Regions from separate parts of the Homo sapiens genome. Here all the other regions are linked to region 1. Evidence: promoter capture Hi-C in 16 types of primary human blood cells and fetal thymus (Javierre and others, 2016). All regions are on one chromosome and are shown on one strand. The core of a region is centred on a gene start or on the middle of the fragment in contact, and the rest is flanking DNA. Distances in the headings are between cores, read along the strand shown.

Region 1 (2,901 bases), core at 143-2,642:
TGTTTGAGACGGAGCACGGAGTCTCTGTCGCCCAGGCTGGAGTGGAGTGGTGCTATCTCGGCTCACTACAACCTCCGCCTCCCAGGTTCAAGCGATTCTCCTGCCTCAGCCACCTGAGTAGCTGGAATTACAGGCGCCCACCACCACGCCCGGCTAATTTTTGTTGGTCAGGTTGGTCTCAAACTTCTGACCTCAAATGATTCACCCACCTTGGACTCCCAAAGTGCTGGGATTACAGGCATGGGCTACCGTGCCCGGCCTCTGTGATGCTTCTGCATGTCTAAAATAACAAGTGGGTATTGACCTACTATGTGTATTCATTATAACATTGCTAGCCATATCACTATCCCTCAGCATTTTAATTTTACTTTTATAGAGATGGGGTCTTGCTGTGTTGCCCAGGCTGGTCTCAAAACTGAGCTCAAGCAATCTCCCACCTCTGCCTCCTGAGTAGCTAGGACTACAGACGCATGCCACCATGTCCGGATACTTTTTAAAAGCATTTAAATACTTTTAAAAATTGTTCTTTTCACTCTTTTTTTTTTTTTTTTTGAGACGGAGTCTCGCTCTGTCACCCAGCCTGGAGTGCAGTGGCGCGATCTCCGCTCACTGCAAGCTCCGCCTCCCGGGTTCACGCCATTCTCCTGCCTCAGCCTCGCGAGTAGCTGGGACTACAGGCGCCCGCCACCACGCCCGGCTAATTTTTTTTGTATTTTTAGTAGAGACGGGGTTTCACCATGTTAGCCAGGATGGTCTCGATCTCCTGACCTCGTGATCCGCCCGCCTCGGCCTCCCAAAGTGCTGGGATTACAGGCGTGAGCCACCGCGCCCGGCCTCTTTTCACCCTTTTGACAATTTTTAAATTTTTTTAAATAGAGACGGGGGTCTTGTTATGTTGCCCAGGCTGGTCTCAAACTCCTGGCCTCAAGCGATCCTCCCTTCTCGGTCTCCCAAATCGCTGGAATTACAGGAGAGAGCCACCGCGCCCGGCCAGCAAGTCAGCGCTCACCATCTCCAACCCCATTTTACAGAAGAGAAAACTGAGGCTTGGGGAGGGCTGCAAGGCAGGAGCCCTCGGCGCCCGGCCAAAGTCAGAAATTTGTTGTTGCCATCCGAGGGGAAAACGTGCACGGGCTCTGCAAATTGTAACCGCCCGGGGTGGGAGAGTCCGTGCCTGGGGGCGTGGTGAGCCAGGGCCGGTGCTGGGGCGCAGAGCAGGGCGGCTCAGATTCCGGGAGGGGCGGGGAGATCGGGTTGCTGGGCGATCCTGGGGTGCTGGAGGCGGCGCGGCGCGGCCGGGGCGGGGAGGGGTGCGGCCCGCCTCCTCCCTGCCCCACCCCCAGCCCCGGCGCCGCGGCTCCTTTAAGAGCGGGAGGGGCGCCCCCTGGCGGCGGAGCGGTGCGTGCGGCCGGAGCCGGAGCGGATCCTGGAGCCGGAGCGGAGCGGAGCGGAGCGGAGCCGGGGCGGAGCGGGCCGAGCGGGCCGAGCCAGCAGCCGAGCTGGGGGCGCGGGCGGGCGGCATGTACCGGGCCCGGGCGGCGCGGGCGGGGCCGGAGCCCGGCAGCCCGGGGCGCTTTGGGATCCTCAGCACCGGGCAGCTCCGGGACCTGCTTCAGGATGAGCCCAAGCTGGACCGGATCGTGCGGCTCAGCAGGAAGGTAGCGCGGGGGGCTCGAGCGGGGGGCGCGGGGGACGGGCAGCGGCCTGCGGGACCTGCCGCTCGAGGGAAGGGCCGCGCGGGCCGGGCCGCGGGGCCGCCCGTGGGCGCGGAGCCTGGCACGTACGAGTGGGCCCCGCGGAGCCACCCCCGGGGGAGGGGGCGCTTGGAGCTGGCCTGGGGCGGGTGGGGCGCCGGGGACCCGAGGGGGGCGCCTGTGCACCCCCAGGATGGCCGCGAGGCGTGTCCTACAGCGGATGCTCCGGGGAGGTGTGTTCCGGGGGGCTGTGTTGTGGGGGGCCCTGGCTCGCACACCCACGTTCTGTAAGGGCCAGAAAGAGGAGGCGCCTTCCACTGGGAGAACTAGGGGCCTGTCTGACACCTGGAGGGGCCGTTGGGGGTTCACGCATTCTGGGGGCGCAAGAGGGGGCTTTGTGCCTGGCGTTGGGGAGGGGTGCTGGAAGCTGCCGTGTGTATTGCATAGGCCACCGTAAGAGAAAGTTGTATATTTCACGGGAGATAGGCCCGGGCTGGTTGTCTGTGGGGGGCAGAAAGGGCAAGTGTGTGTTGAAAGCAGGCAGGCGAGGAGGGGCTTGTGCATCCCACAAGGGACAGATGGAGGGGAGTGCGTTCTCCAGGGGCAGGGAGGGGAGGTTGGGCCCTGCTAGAGACAAGGAAAAAGCCTTCTCCAGGGCCGGGGCTGCTGTAAGCCCGGAGCAGGGAGGAAAAGGGGGTGTGTATTCCTTGGGGTGTGAGGATTCCACTGGAGGCAGAGGAAGGGGTGGGAAGGGAAGAGAGGGTGACCCGAGGGGGTGCTGTGAGGGGACGGGGTGCAGACACCCCTCTGGAGAGGATGAGCAGGGGGTGGGAGTGTTTTCGGTGCAAACACCTGAGGAGGAAACAGACAAAGGCCTGGAGTGAGAGGGAAGCTGTCCATGCATGGAAAATGGGGCAGAGGAGGGAGGGGCACTCCTCCGGGACCTGAGCAGACATATTAATTGAAAAATTAAAAATTAACTAACATTTGTAGAGGCCTTTATAGTTTTCCTCACTTAAGTCTCTCAACAACCCCATAAGGTGGATGTTTTTTAACTCGATTTGTAAAAGAGGAAACTGAGGCCAGAGAGGGAGCTCAGGGCAGAGCCAGTTCTGGTCCCGGCCTGTCATCGTCCCTTCACCTGTTGGGTTCACCACCCTGAAGGGGTGCCTGACAGGTGCCTTTGGCCTGGCCCTCAGGCACGGTC
Region 2 (2,901 bases), core at 169-2,668, 370 kb after region 1:
AGCTGGGATTACAGGCACATGCCACCACGCCTGGCTAATTTTTGTATTTTTAGTAGAGACAGGGTTTCACCATGTTTGCCAGGCTGGTCTCAAACTCCTGACCTCAGATGATCCGCCTGCCTCAGCTTCCCAAAGTGCTAGGATTACAGGCGTGAGCCACCACCCCCAGCCCATCATCCCCTTTTGAGGCTGAGACTCTGGGACTCAGAGAGTATAAACCACGAGTTAGAAGTAGAGCTAGGTTCCCAGGGGCTCCAAGTCTGAGCGGGAGGACCTGGGGTGTGTGATTCCACACTGCCCACACTTTGCCCGGGTTGGGGGTTGGATAAGTAGTAGATGGATAAGCTGGGCCACCCCATTCACTATCTTCTCTTCCCTCTGCAGCGCTGGGGCCTGGAGGCAAACCTCTTAAGCCAGGTAAGACCCAAGGCCTCGGAGCATTGAGAGACAGCGAGGGAGCTGGGGAGGGAGGAGCCTACCCAGCTGGGAATGGGACAAGGAAACTAGGAACAGGACAAGGAAGCCAACGGGCAGGAGGAAGGAGGGAGGTGTGGACACCGATTAGCCTCCCAAGGATGAGTAGGCCGGGGCCAGGTCCCAGGGCTTCCAGGAACAAGAGGCTGGAAGCAGCTCCATGTCCTCCCTGTGTGAGGGCGTCTAGCATCTACCCTACATGTGCATGTGTGTTCACCCAGCTGTCCAGAGACTCCTCTCTGCAAAGGAGAGGCTGTTAGAGGCAACATCAGGGATTGCTCCGGTTCCAGTGGCCTCCAAGCCTTACATGACCCTCGGGAGCTCAGACACAGATCCTCAGCCCCAGACTTCCCCTGAGTGGTCCCCTAGCCCTTGACCCCAGACCAATACCCCAGATCACCCTGACCTTGATGCCATTCTGAGCCCTTCTCCTGACTCCAGATGGAGCACTGGTCTCAAGCCAAAGCTTAACCCCAGCCCAAGCCCTGAGCCTAATCCCAGGCTGAACCCTGACCCTGCTGACCCTGGTCCCACAGGACCCCCAATCCTGGCCTTAGGCCAAGCCCTGACCCCAAGCCCAAGCTGAGCACCGACCATGGCCCCGGATAAGCTCCCCTCCTAATCTCAGGCCCTTTCCAGCTGTGTCCAGACCACGGAGTTTTCCAGTAAGAAGGTGTGGCCGGATCTATCCTGGCCTCGCCCAAGGGGCTGGGATCTGCCACGAGGGTCCACTCTCAGCTCTGGGGAATGCACCCCCAGGAAGGAAGGTGGGGCAGGTCCCTCCGGGAAATACTGGCGGATAAGGAGCAGGTGGAGGAAACAGCGTCTCTGTCCAGATTGATGGTCCCTCGGCATGAGACGCTCCACATGTGACTTTGGCCGCCCCACACCCTGAGCTGTGTTGCCCTGGCTCAGAAGCCCAAGTCTCCAGGACACAGTTTAGATGTCCAAGAGCTCTTATGAAATCCTGATAGTTGATAATCCAAGTGCAAATGAATCTTCAAGACCCAGATTCCCCTGCGCTAAAAGTCCATCTGGGTTGTGAAACACCAGGGCTGGAGCCAGGAGAGGCGGGAGAACGGGGTGCCTGGGGTCTACAGGGCTCTGCAAGGCCAGGAGACCCTGGGAGCTTGCCACTTATCCCCGCCAGCACCTATACCCTGTCTTCCTGGAGCAGGTGAGGGTTCTTAGCAGGGTCTTTGACGGTGAAGAGAGGACAGGGGAGATGATAGTGGTGCAGAGGTGTGGAGGTAGGTCTGTGCTTGGCCTAGAAGACCCAAATTGAGGAGGTTGTGCCTGCAAAGCTGGAGGGTACATTCATTGATCCCACTAGGAGCAAGAGACACATAGCAGGTTGTGGTTAAACACCAGAGGAAAGACAGACAACTCCCTACGAAGTTCCAGGATGTGTAGTTGCAAAAGTGAAGCTTTTGTTAATGAAAGATTTAGGTTAGACTTCTGAAAGAACTTCCAGCTCAGGGTGAAGGAGTCAATCCAAAGGAAAGTCAGAGCATCTCCTTCTGATAAAAAGGGCAGTGTTTCCAGGCAAGGGGCTGGATTCCATGACCTCCCCGAAGACTCAGGGCTACAGAAGGGTCGGCAGAGCCCCCATGGCACCCCCAGGGAGGCCCCCACATCCGGGCTGCCAGGACGTCTGGGCCTGCCCAGGCAGGATGGAATGGAGCACAGGCAGCGCGTGTCATGCTTGGGAACAATTAATCCCTTGGTGACAGAGGGTGGGTGGCCTGGCAGCTGCTTTTCCACGTGGGCGCCACCACAGGTCCAAGCTGGCCCTGCCCTGCCTCAGCTCTCAGCGGGGGACCAGGCAGCTGGAAGCCTGCACACCCAACACCCTGAGCACTAGCCAGAGGCCAGCCGCCCACTGAGAGGGGCACGGGCATGGACAAGAAGGAACTGGGAGCACCCACTGTGTGCCCTGGGTAGGTTGCACAACTAGGTGCTTTCTGCACACATGCTCACTGGTCCCAGCAAGGCAGGTGATATAATGGCCATTTTGTAGATGGCAAAAACTAAGCCTCATCGGAGAGGCAAATTGACCTGCTTGTGCTCATGGAGGCTGGGTAGCAGCAGCAGGGTCTGAATCTAGAACTCTCTGACTCTAGAAAGAAGGAGGATGGAGCTGGCCAGGTCCCTGGACTCCCAGCTGTGGTCAGCCCCTCCCCGCTTTCTCCTCCTTTCCAGATGCTAGAATCCTTGGGGCATTTGGGGCAGGTGAGTGCAAAGGAAGGAGGGCAGGCAGAGACAGAAGTGGTCAGGCCACATGACAGGATGCTCAGGCTGGGATCATGGGAAAAAGGAAGATGGCCCCAGAGAAGCTGCCTGCCCCCCACTGCAGCCCCAGCCTCTTCTCACTTCCTGTGCAGTCCTCAGCTTCCCCTCCCAGCCCCTCTGTGGACAGGAAAGGTC
Region 3 (2,901 bases), core at 207-2,706, 340 kb after region 1:
CGAGTCAGGCGGATTGCTTGAGGTCAGGAGTTCGAGACCAGCCTGGCTAACAGGGTGAAACCCCCTCTCTACAAAAAAATACAAAACTAGCCAGGCATAGTGGCACATACCTGTGGTCCCAGCTACCCGGGAGGCTGAGGTGGGAGGATTGCTTGGACCCAGGAGGTTGAGGCTGCAGTGAGCTGTGATTGTGCCACTGCAATCCAGGCTGGGTGACCAAGAAATAATATTACTTTATTTTCTTTAATTTTATTTATTTATTTATTTATTTATTTATTTATTTATTTACTTTGAGATGGAGTTTTGCTCTTGTTGCCCAGGCCGGAGTGCAATGGCACGATCTTGGCTCACTGCAACCTCCACCTCCCGGGTTCAAATGATTCTCCTGCCTCAGCCAAGTAGCTGGGATTACAGGAGTGCACCACCATGCCTGGCTAATTTTTTGTATTTTTAGTAGAGATGGGGTTTCGCCATGTTGGCCAGGCTGGTCTCAAACACCTGACCTCAGGTGATCCGTCCGCATAGGCCTCCCAAAGTGCTGGGATTACCGGTGTGAACCACTGTGCCCAGCCAGAATATTACCTTAATCAAGCCTCTAGATATAACAGCCAGCTTCTCAGAACACAAATAATAGAATTATATATTACTCCGGGGGGGGTGGATGGTGAAGCTCTGCCCCCAAGACCAGCAGCACCAGCTGCCCCTGCCTGGGTGGCCACTTTACAACAGCAAATCTGGAGGTCGTCCTGGCCCGTGGGCTCCCAATGGAGCCCGAACAGTGGCTTTGACAGATGAGGAAGCCGAGACCCACTGAACAGAGGGAGTGTTCTTAAAGCCAGGGACACCCGGCGCAGAGCCCATGTGGGGCTTGGGGAGCCCAGGGGACTTGTCCCTTGGTCTTCCGCTGAGCAGCTTTGAAGAGGGCGCATATTCTGGGAGTTAGAGACCCAGGTTGGAATGGGCCTGTCTCTGCGTCTCTGGGCCTCGAGTCCCCTACCTTGGGGGCACAGGTGTGTATCTGGGGCCGAGGGGATACTGAGGCTATGCCCTTGGAGACTGGCTCTCTCCAGCTGGCAATCTCATTCAGGGATTCTGGGACTGAAAATCCTCCAGGGCTGGGCGTAGTGGCTCACGCCTATAATCCCAGAACTTTGGGAGGCCGAGGCAGGCAGATCACTTGAGGTCAGGAGTTCAAGATCAGCCTGGCCAACATGGTGAGACCCCCGTCTCTAGCAAAAATACAGAAATTAGCCAGATGTGGTGGCAGCCGCCTGTAATCCCAGCTTCTTGGGAGGCTGAGGCAGGAGAATCACTTGAACCTAGGAGGAGGAGGTTGCAGTGAATCAAGATCATGCCACTGCACTCCAGCCTGGGCGACAGAGTGAGACTCTGTCCCAAAAAAAAGAAAAAAGAAAAAGAAAATGACCTCTCAGTGCCTAGGATGGCAGCCCCCAGGTTCAGGCCCTCAGCTGGAACCCCTGGGGCTGTGAATGAGGTGTGAGGAAGGCGGGGCCTCCAGGCAGCTGGAGTGCAGGAGGGAAGCTGGGCTGGACCTGGGATCTCTGGACCCGCGAGGCCTGCCCGACCTGCCTGCCCCCTGCCCAGAGCGTCTACCTTGGCCTGGCTCTCACCCAGTAGGTGGAGGCCCAGGGGCCTGGAATCAGTCACATCCGGCCCAGCCGTCTAAACAGGCCTGAGGCCCCAGAGCCCGCCGGGCCCAAGGGGAGCCCAAAATAACATCTGAGTCAGCATCCCTGCAGACACCCCCATCAGCCTGGGCCCATAGGGAGGGGCCTAGAGGCGGCCCAGACGGGGACCAGGCCAGGTCAGGCAGCCACCTGCTCTGGCGGGGCCCAGCCAGCGGCCAGCATGGCCCAGGGACATTGGAATTAGCCAAGTGGGGAGAGGGAGATTGGAGAAGAGAAGGGGGCGGCCCTGCCTGAGGTGGGCTCCAGTGCGAGAGAGACAGGGCTGTCTGCAGATGGTAGCAGTTCAGTGCAGCCAGTGTCACCCTGGGGGGAGAATAGGGGGCTGGGAGCAGGTGCAAGCACATGGCCCAGTCTGGGGTCCCTAGAGGCAAGCAAGTCCTGAGTGTGGGTTGGATTTGGACAGGACAGGGATGCGGGAACCACATTCTACCCAGGGGGAGTCAGGGAACAGAAGCCCCTCCACAGGGGGAGGTGGAAGAGAGAGAGCCCCAGGAGTTTAGGGACCCCTACCAGAGCCAAGCTGGAGACCCTCCCCCCAGGGGCTGGGCAGACACATATAGCCCTCTGACCCCAATCACCTCTGCCACTACAGCCCAGCAGCCATGGCCAGGCCTGTCCGCCCCATACTAGCCCTGCCAGACACAAAGGTGGCCCCAGCAGAAGGGACTGTCTGCACTGAGGCATCCACGTCATCCTACCCATCCCTCCAGGTGAGCACAGCCCCCAGGAGACCCAGAGGAGCTAAGATTCCAACACCAGGGCAGGGCGGGCCTGAGATCAGGGACAGGTCCTAGGCCAGAGTCCTTCAGCATCAGTCCATGTGATCTCGACTCCTCCCCAGAGGCGGCCGCAGGAGCGAGCTGGTCCAGGCCACACTGTGTCCTCAGGTCCCCGGGTGGGTGGCTCTGGTCAGTCCCTTTGCTTTACAACTGTGAGGTCGCCCTGCCTCCCATGGCCAAGCTGGGGCAGAGGGCGGATACCTGAATCCCTGCTGGCCTCCCAGCTTAATCCCTCAGCTTTCCTGAGAATGGCTCTGCTGTTCTTGGCCAAGGGCCTCCGCTGAGCCTGGCACAGCCTCGGCTTGGCCCTCACCAGCGAGTGAGGGCTTGGCTGGGGCCCAGCCAGGGCGGTGGACATGATTGAAGCTAGAACATGGGGCCTGGCGGGCGGTGGAGGTTCACTTGGACCCCAG
Region 4 (2,901 bases), core at 103-2,602, 320 kb before region 1:
GCAGTTCCCAGCAAGCAGGTGAGACAGACTGCCAGACTATACATCTCCATCATCGCCCACCTTTCTGTTTCCCCTACCGCAAATAAACAACCCCTAGAGAGGTGGGAGGGTGTCACTTTTTTTTTTTTTTTTTGAGATGGAGTCCCTCTCTGTCACCTAGGCTATAGGGCAATGGCATGATCTCGGCTCACTGCAACCTCCGCGTCCCGAGTTCAGACGATTCTCCTGTCTCAGCCTCCAAGGTAGCTGGGATTACAGGCGTGTACCACCACATCTGGCTAATTGTTTTTGTATTTTAGTTGAGACAGGGTTTCACCGTGTTGACCAGGCTGGTCTCAAACTCCTGACCTCAGGTGATCCCCCCACCTCGTCCTTCCAAAGTGCTGGGATTACAGGCACAAGCCACCACAACTGGCCCCGGTGTCACTTAAAAAGAGTCTTCTGGTGCGCTCTTCCCTGCGTGCTCCACCAAGAACCACTGCTCCTAACCAAGTGCAGAAAGGCCCCTCGTAGGTCCTCATGTGACCAGAAACAGGCGTTTCGGGTCTGACTCATACCCATGGATTGACCTCCTTGTTACCCACGTGACTAAGCACACCAGTCTTTTAGTGATGTAATTTTTTCTCATTATAGAAGTTTTGTGTCCATTGTAGAAAACCTTGAAAATGTCTACCTATAAATAGGAGTCCCCCATAACTCCATCACTTGGTAATAGGTCCATGGTTTTTAAGGTATATCTTCTTCTGTAATGGTGAAATTCTCTACTTGTCTTAATATTAAACATTCGGTCCAGATTGCTAGTTAAAGCTTGCTTGGCATTAGTGTCTGAGATGTGAGTATCTCTTAGGTTACATTTCAAGCCTTTTAGGACTTGCCAGCAATTTCCTTTCTGGTATTTAAAAGTATCCTGTCAGATCTGGTCATTCTTTAGTGAGAAAATCAGGAGAGGTTAGAGGCTGCTGAGGGTGAGGGGTCGTTTGGCGAGACTCAGCCCGGAGCCTGGTGGCCAGAGGCACCTGCCCTTCAAGGCAGCTGTCCTTTCCAGTTAGGGGGTTTTGTCCAGGGGCTTGGCTCCTTGGCCAGCTGTGGGAGCCTTCCCTGCCTCCCCACCTCTCCAGCTTACTTCCATCCCTCCCAACTCAGTTTGAGTCCTGATAAATTTTCAGTGTTTCTGGATGTGAGTGGAGAATTCCAGCCACCAGATGTCACCTCCTCCAAACACAGACCTCCTCTAACAAGTGTGTATTTCCCTCTCCAGCTGTTACAGGGACTATGTGGATAAAGAGAAAGAAATGTGGCACCGCATGTTCGCGCCCTGTGGCGATGGTTCTACAGCAGGAGAAAGTTGAAGGTAATCAAAGGGCCAGGGTGGCACACAGGCTTCCGGATGGAGAAGCGTGCTGCTCTCCTCCACCCCCAAGTGAATGGTGGCTGTCTGCAGCTGAGGGTGGACGAGGGGTAGACAAGTTCCTTGCTGTAAAGAACAACACAACGGTAGTGCAGGATGCACGTGCTGCACGCCTACCTTTCCCGTGAGAAGAAAGTTCGCCCAGACCTGTGGGTTAAATGTATAGGTTCAGGGGGCCTTGAGCTATTTATTTATTTATTTGTTTGTTTGTTTGTTTGAGGCAGAGTCTCACTCTGTTGCCCAGGCTGGAGTGCAGTGGTGCGATCTCAGCTCACTGCAAGCTCCGCCTCCCAGGTTCAAGCGATTCTTCTGCCTCAGCCTCCTGAGTAGCCGAGATTACAGCTGTGAGCCGTGGCGCTCAGCCTAAATTTATTTTTTAAAAAACCTTTTTTTTTCATGTTTTATGTGAAACTCTCCTTGCAGTTGCTTGGAACATGAGACTGAGTAGAGTCATGAATGTGATGGTTGATAGAGCTGGGCTTTGACGTGTCAAGCTTCTGTTCATCTTCTTTCTCCTGAGAACTCGAAAGCCTCCAACTTGACTGTGTCTCTAACACATTACTAAAGCAGACAAGATCGCAGGGTGGGGATGGGCTGTGGCTCTTAAATTCTACTTTCTATTAGACTTAGAGATTTGAAGATGCTGAAAGCAACAGGGAGCGGAATATAGCATTCCTCCCAAGATCACACCTAGTAATTTTGCAGGCACAGGGCGGGAGTTCCCAAGCACATGAGATAACCCTCCAGTCTGAACCCTCCAGTCTGGTCTACTATTTAATAAAATTAATGGAAACAAAATCACCTGCCTGAAACACCTGCTTAGCTGCACAGATAACTCTGCTCTCTCGGAGAAGTCAAACAAGGAACAACAAGAAAACAGCTGCTGAACGGGCTCATGGTGATAAATCTCTCCTTTGTTGCTTCCTCCATCTCCCTACAAAAGGGGCTTGAGAGGAGGAGGCAGTGAAAAGGCCTATTCATCCCCGACATTTTCATAGCGGTCCATAAACTGCTGCTATCTGCACTTTCAGATGCGCCCACCAGCATCACAGGTAAATGTTGCCTTCGTCACTGATGCTGGCCATGTGAACCCTGGCCTTCAGGTCTTTCAGTGGCCTTTGGAGTACATATTTGCAGGTCTTCAGAACTGAGATGTGAGCCAGAGGACTTCCCTTGTTTGGTCACTTCTAGTATCCAGTAAAAATGAAGGGCAGTGACTGTTTGCCAAACATTTTGGACTGTGACCCCACAAGTCCTGTCATGAATGAAGACCCAGGTCTGCCAGGGTCCATCCCAGACAAGGGCTTGGGCAGCCCAGCTGGGCAGCAGTTTTCCTCGCCATCATGTTTGCTTCCCAGCCTTTTCAGTCTGTAGGACTGGAGGCTGCTGATCTTCAGATGCTTTCCCCCAGATTTCCAACTCCAGCATTTATCTTACCATCAGCAATGACTGTATTTGTGTTCTAAAGTAGCCACCACTGTCATATTGCCACT
Region 5 (2,901 bases), core at 251-2,750, 290 kb after region 1:
GTCTTCTTTAATTGCTGTTTCTTTTTTTTTTCTTTTGAGACGGAGTCTCACTCTGTCACCCGGGCTGGAATGCAATGGCACAATCTTGGCTCACTGCAACCTCCACCTCCTGGGTTCAAGCGATTCTCCTGCCTCAGCCTCCCTGGTAGCTGGGATTAGAGGCAGGCACCACCATGTCTGGCTAATTTTTGTATTTTTAGTAGAGACGGTGTTTCACCATATTGGCCAGGCTGGTCTCGAACTCCTGACCTCAGGTGATCCACCTGCCTTGGTCTCCCAAAGTGCTGAGATTACAGGCGTGAGCCACTGCACCCCATCAAGACTTCTTTAATTTCTTTCAACTGTGTTTTGTGGTTGTCAGAGTATGTCTTGTGCTTGTTTTATTAAATTTATTCCTAAGTATTTTATTTTTATGTTATTATAAATGGAATTGTTTTCTTAATCTAATTTTTTGGATTGTTCATTTCCAAAAAATATAACAGATTTTTATATATTTATCTTGTATTCTACAACCTTGCTGAACTCATTTATTAGTTCTAATAGTTGTGTGTGTGTATATATGTCTGTGTGTTTGTGTAATCCTGAGGATTTTCTCTATACAAGGCCACATTCTCTGCAAATAGAGGCAGTTATACTTAATCCTTTCTAATCTGGATGCCTTTATTTCTTTCTCCTGCCCTGGCTAGAACATCTGATGCAATGTGGAATATAAGTGTTGACAGGGGACATTCTTGTCTTGTTTTTGATCTTAGGAAGAAAGCTTTCTACCTTTCATCACTGTGTATGATGATAGGTGGGTTTTTATGGATGTCTTTTTTCAGGTTGAGAAATTATCCTTCTATTCCTAGTTTGGAGATTGTTTTTATCACAAAAGGGTGTTGGATTTTGACAATGCTTTTTCTACATCTATTGAGACGATGATATGGTTTTGCCTTTTATTCCATTAATAGGGTGTATTAACTGCATTGATTTTTGTACACTGAGGCAAACTTACATTCCTGGCATAAATCTCACTTGATCATTGGTATATAATCCTTTTTGTATGTTAGTGAATTCATTTTCTAGTATTTTGCTGAGAATTTTTTTGTCTTTATTTGTAAGAATTATTGGTCTATAGTTTTCTTTTCTTGTTTTGTCTTTGTGTGGTTTTGGTGTCAGGACCTCAGAATGAGTTGGAAAATTTCCCCCCTATTTTTGGAAAGGTTTTTGGAGGATTGATATTAATTCTTCTTTAAATGTTTGGCAGAAATCATCAGTGAAGCCATCTGGTCCTGGGTTTTTCTTTGCAAGGAGTTCTTTTGTGTTTGTTTTGCTTTGTTTTGTTTTGTTTTAATTATTAATTCAATCTCTTGTTATAGATATTTTGAGATTTTTAATTTCTTTTTGTGTCTGTTCTAATAGCTTGAGGCTTTGTAAGAATTTGTCCCTGGGATACAATTGTTCATAGTATTCCCTTATAATTCTCTATCCTTCTGTAAGGTTAATAGTAATGTCCTGGCTGGGCGCAGTGGCTGACACCTGTAATCCCAGCACTTTGAGAGGCCGAGGCGGGTGGATCACCTGAGATCAGGGGTTCGAGACCAGCCTGGCCAACATGGTGAAACCCCATCTCTACTAAAAATACAAAATTAGCCGGCTGTGTTGACGTGTGCCTGTAATCCCAGCTACTTGGGAGGCTGAGGCAGGAGGATCACTTGAACCCAGGAGGTAGAGGTTGCAGTGAGCCGAGATTGTGCCACTGCACTCCAGCCTGGGCAACAGAGCAAGACTCCGTCTCAAAAAAAAAAAAATAGTAATGTCATTTCTTCCATTCTCAATTTTAGTAATTTGAATTTTTTTCTCTTTTTTTCTTGGCAAGTCTAAAGATTTGTGAATTTTGTTGATCTTTTTGAAGAACCAACTTTTTGGTTTCATTAGCTTTCTCTATTGCTTTTCTGTCTCTATTTCATTTATTTCCCCTTAATCTATATTATTTCTTTCTTTGTATTTGCTTTGAGTTTAACTTTGTTCCTCTTTTTCTTGTTTCTTAGGGTAGAAGTTTAGGTTATTGATTTGAGATCTTGCTTCATTTTTAATATAGGAATTTACAGCGCTATGTTTTCCTTCTAAACTTCTATTTATTCTTGAGCCAGTTTTGGTCATTTGTGTCTTCAAAGAATTTGTCCATGCTACTTGAGCTATCAAATGTACTGGCATGCTATTGCTCATAACATTCCCTTATTATCTGTTTCATGTACACAGAAGCTTTAGTAATGTCTCTTCTTTCATGACTAATATTGATAATGCAGTATTCTCCATTTTTGGTTTAAAGAATATAGCTTGAGTCTTATCAGTGGTGGTGAGAGACTGTGGTGGCCCTATGAGTCCCACCTCCTGCCATCACACCTTTGTGTGGCCTCCCCTTGAGCGTGGATGTGACTTGTGACTTGCTTCTAAATCATAGAATATAACACAGGTGAAGGCATGTACATGATGACGTGTATGTGATTACATTATGTAAGATAATAATCCATCTTGCTAGGACACTCTTGTCCTCCCCACCATACACCTAATGGCTTTGAGGAAGTAAGCTGCCATGTGGCAAGGAGATGGGAGTGGCCTCTGGCTGACAGCCAGGTGGAAACTGAAGCTCTTGGTCCAGCAGCCTGCAAGGAACTGAATTCTGTCAACCACCACATGAGTTAGAAGTCGATTCTCCACCAGTTGGCCTCAGATGAGACACCTTGATTGCAACTTAGTGAGCTAGAAGCAGAGGACCTAGCTAAGCTGTGCCTGGACTCCTGGCCCCCAGAAACTATGAGAAAATAAATACATGTTGTTTAAAGCCACTGTTTGCGGTGGTTGTGTTGCTACACAGCAATAGATAATGAATACATCAACACTTGGACTTTTCAAAGAAAC

The links. The method cuts DNA at HindIII sites, captures the fragments that hold promoters and counts their contacts. A CHiCAGO score of 5 or more calls a contact.
Region 2: a contact is called between a fragment that was not itself captured here and the fragment with the promoter of VPS37D in region 1, in 2 of 17 cell types (endothelial precursors and erythroblasts). The highest score is 6.3, in endothelial precursors.
Region 3: a contact is called between a fragment that was not itself captured here and the fragment with the promoter of VPS37D in region 1, in 1 of 17 cell types (M1 macrophages). The highest score is 5.7, in M1 macrophages.
Region 4: a contact is called between a fragment that was not itself captured here and the fragment with the promoter of VPS37D in region 1, in 1 of 17 cell types (erythroblasts). The highest score is 6.1, in erythroblasts.
Region 5: a fragment that was not itself captured here is called in contact with the fragment with the promoter of VPS37D in region 1 in 2 of 17 cell types (M1 macrophages and erythroblasts); the score reaches 6.5 in M1 macrophages.

The regions. Positions count from the first base shown.
Region 1 is chr7:73,666,439-73,669,339 of GRCh38, forward strand. It overlaps VPS37D (VPS37D subunit of ESCRT-I), which reads left to right and starts at 1,393. Exons shown (of 4, transcript NM_001077621.2): 1 at 1,393-1,658. The coding sequence starts at 1,521. RefSeq lists silencers at 1,004-1,053, 1,064-1,163, 1,274-1,573 and an enhancer at 1,555-2,550. The HindIII fragment of the contact is 11,431 bases long and covers 1-2,901 here.
Region 2 is chr7:74,037,323-74,040,223 of GRCh38, forward strand. It overlaps ELN (elastin), which reads left to right. Exons shown (of 33, transcript NM_000501.4): 4 at 385-417. Among named protein-coding and RNA genes, the nearest start is that of ELN, 11 kb to the left of the region's middle. The HindIII fragment of the contact is 961 bases long and covers 939-1,899 here.
Region 3 is chr7:74,011,365-74,014,265 of GRCh38, forward strand. No RefSeq gene overlaps it. Among named protein-coding and RNA genes, the nearest start is that of ELN, 15 kb to the right of the region's middle. RefSeq lists an enhancer at 1,510-1,829. The HindIII fragment of the contact is 3,005 bases long and covers 1-2,901 here.
Region 4 is chr7:73,341,549-73,344,449 of GRCh38, forward strand. It overlaps FKBP6 (FKBP prolyl isomerase family member 6 (inactive)), which reads left to right. Exons shown (of 9, transcript NM_003602.5): 8 at 1,259-1,351. The coding sequence ends at 1,349. Among named protein-coding and RNA genes, the nearest start is that of FKBP6, 15 kb to the left of the region's middle. RefSeq lists an enhancer at 567-1,511. The HindIII fragment of the contact is 1,095 bases long and covers 806-1,900 here.
Region 5 is chr7:73,958,167-73,961,067 of GRCh38, forward strand. No RefSeq gene overlaps it. Among named protein-coding and RNA genes, the nearest start is that of ELN, 69 kb to the right of the region's middle. The HindIII fragment of the contact is 1,484 bases long and covers 759-2,242 here.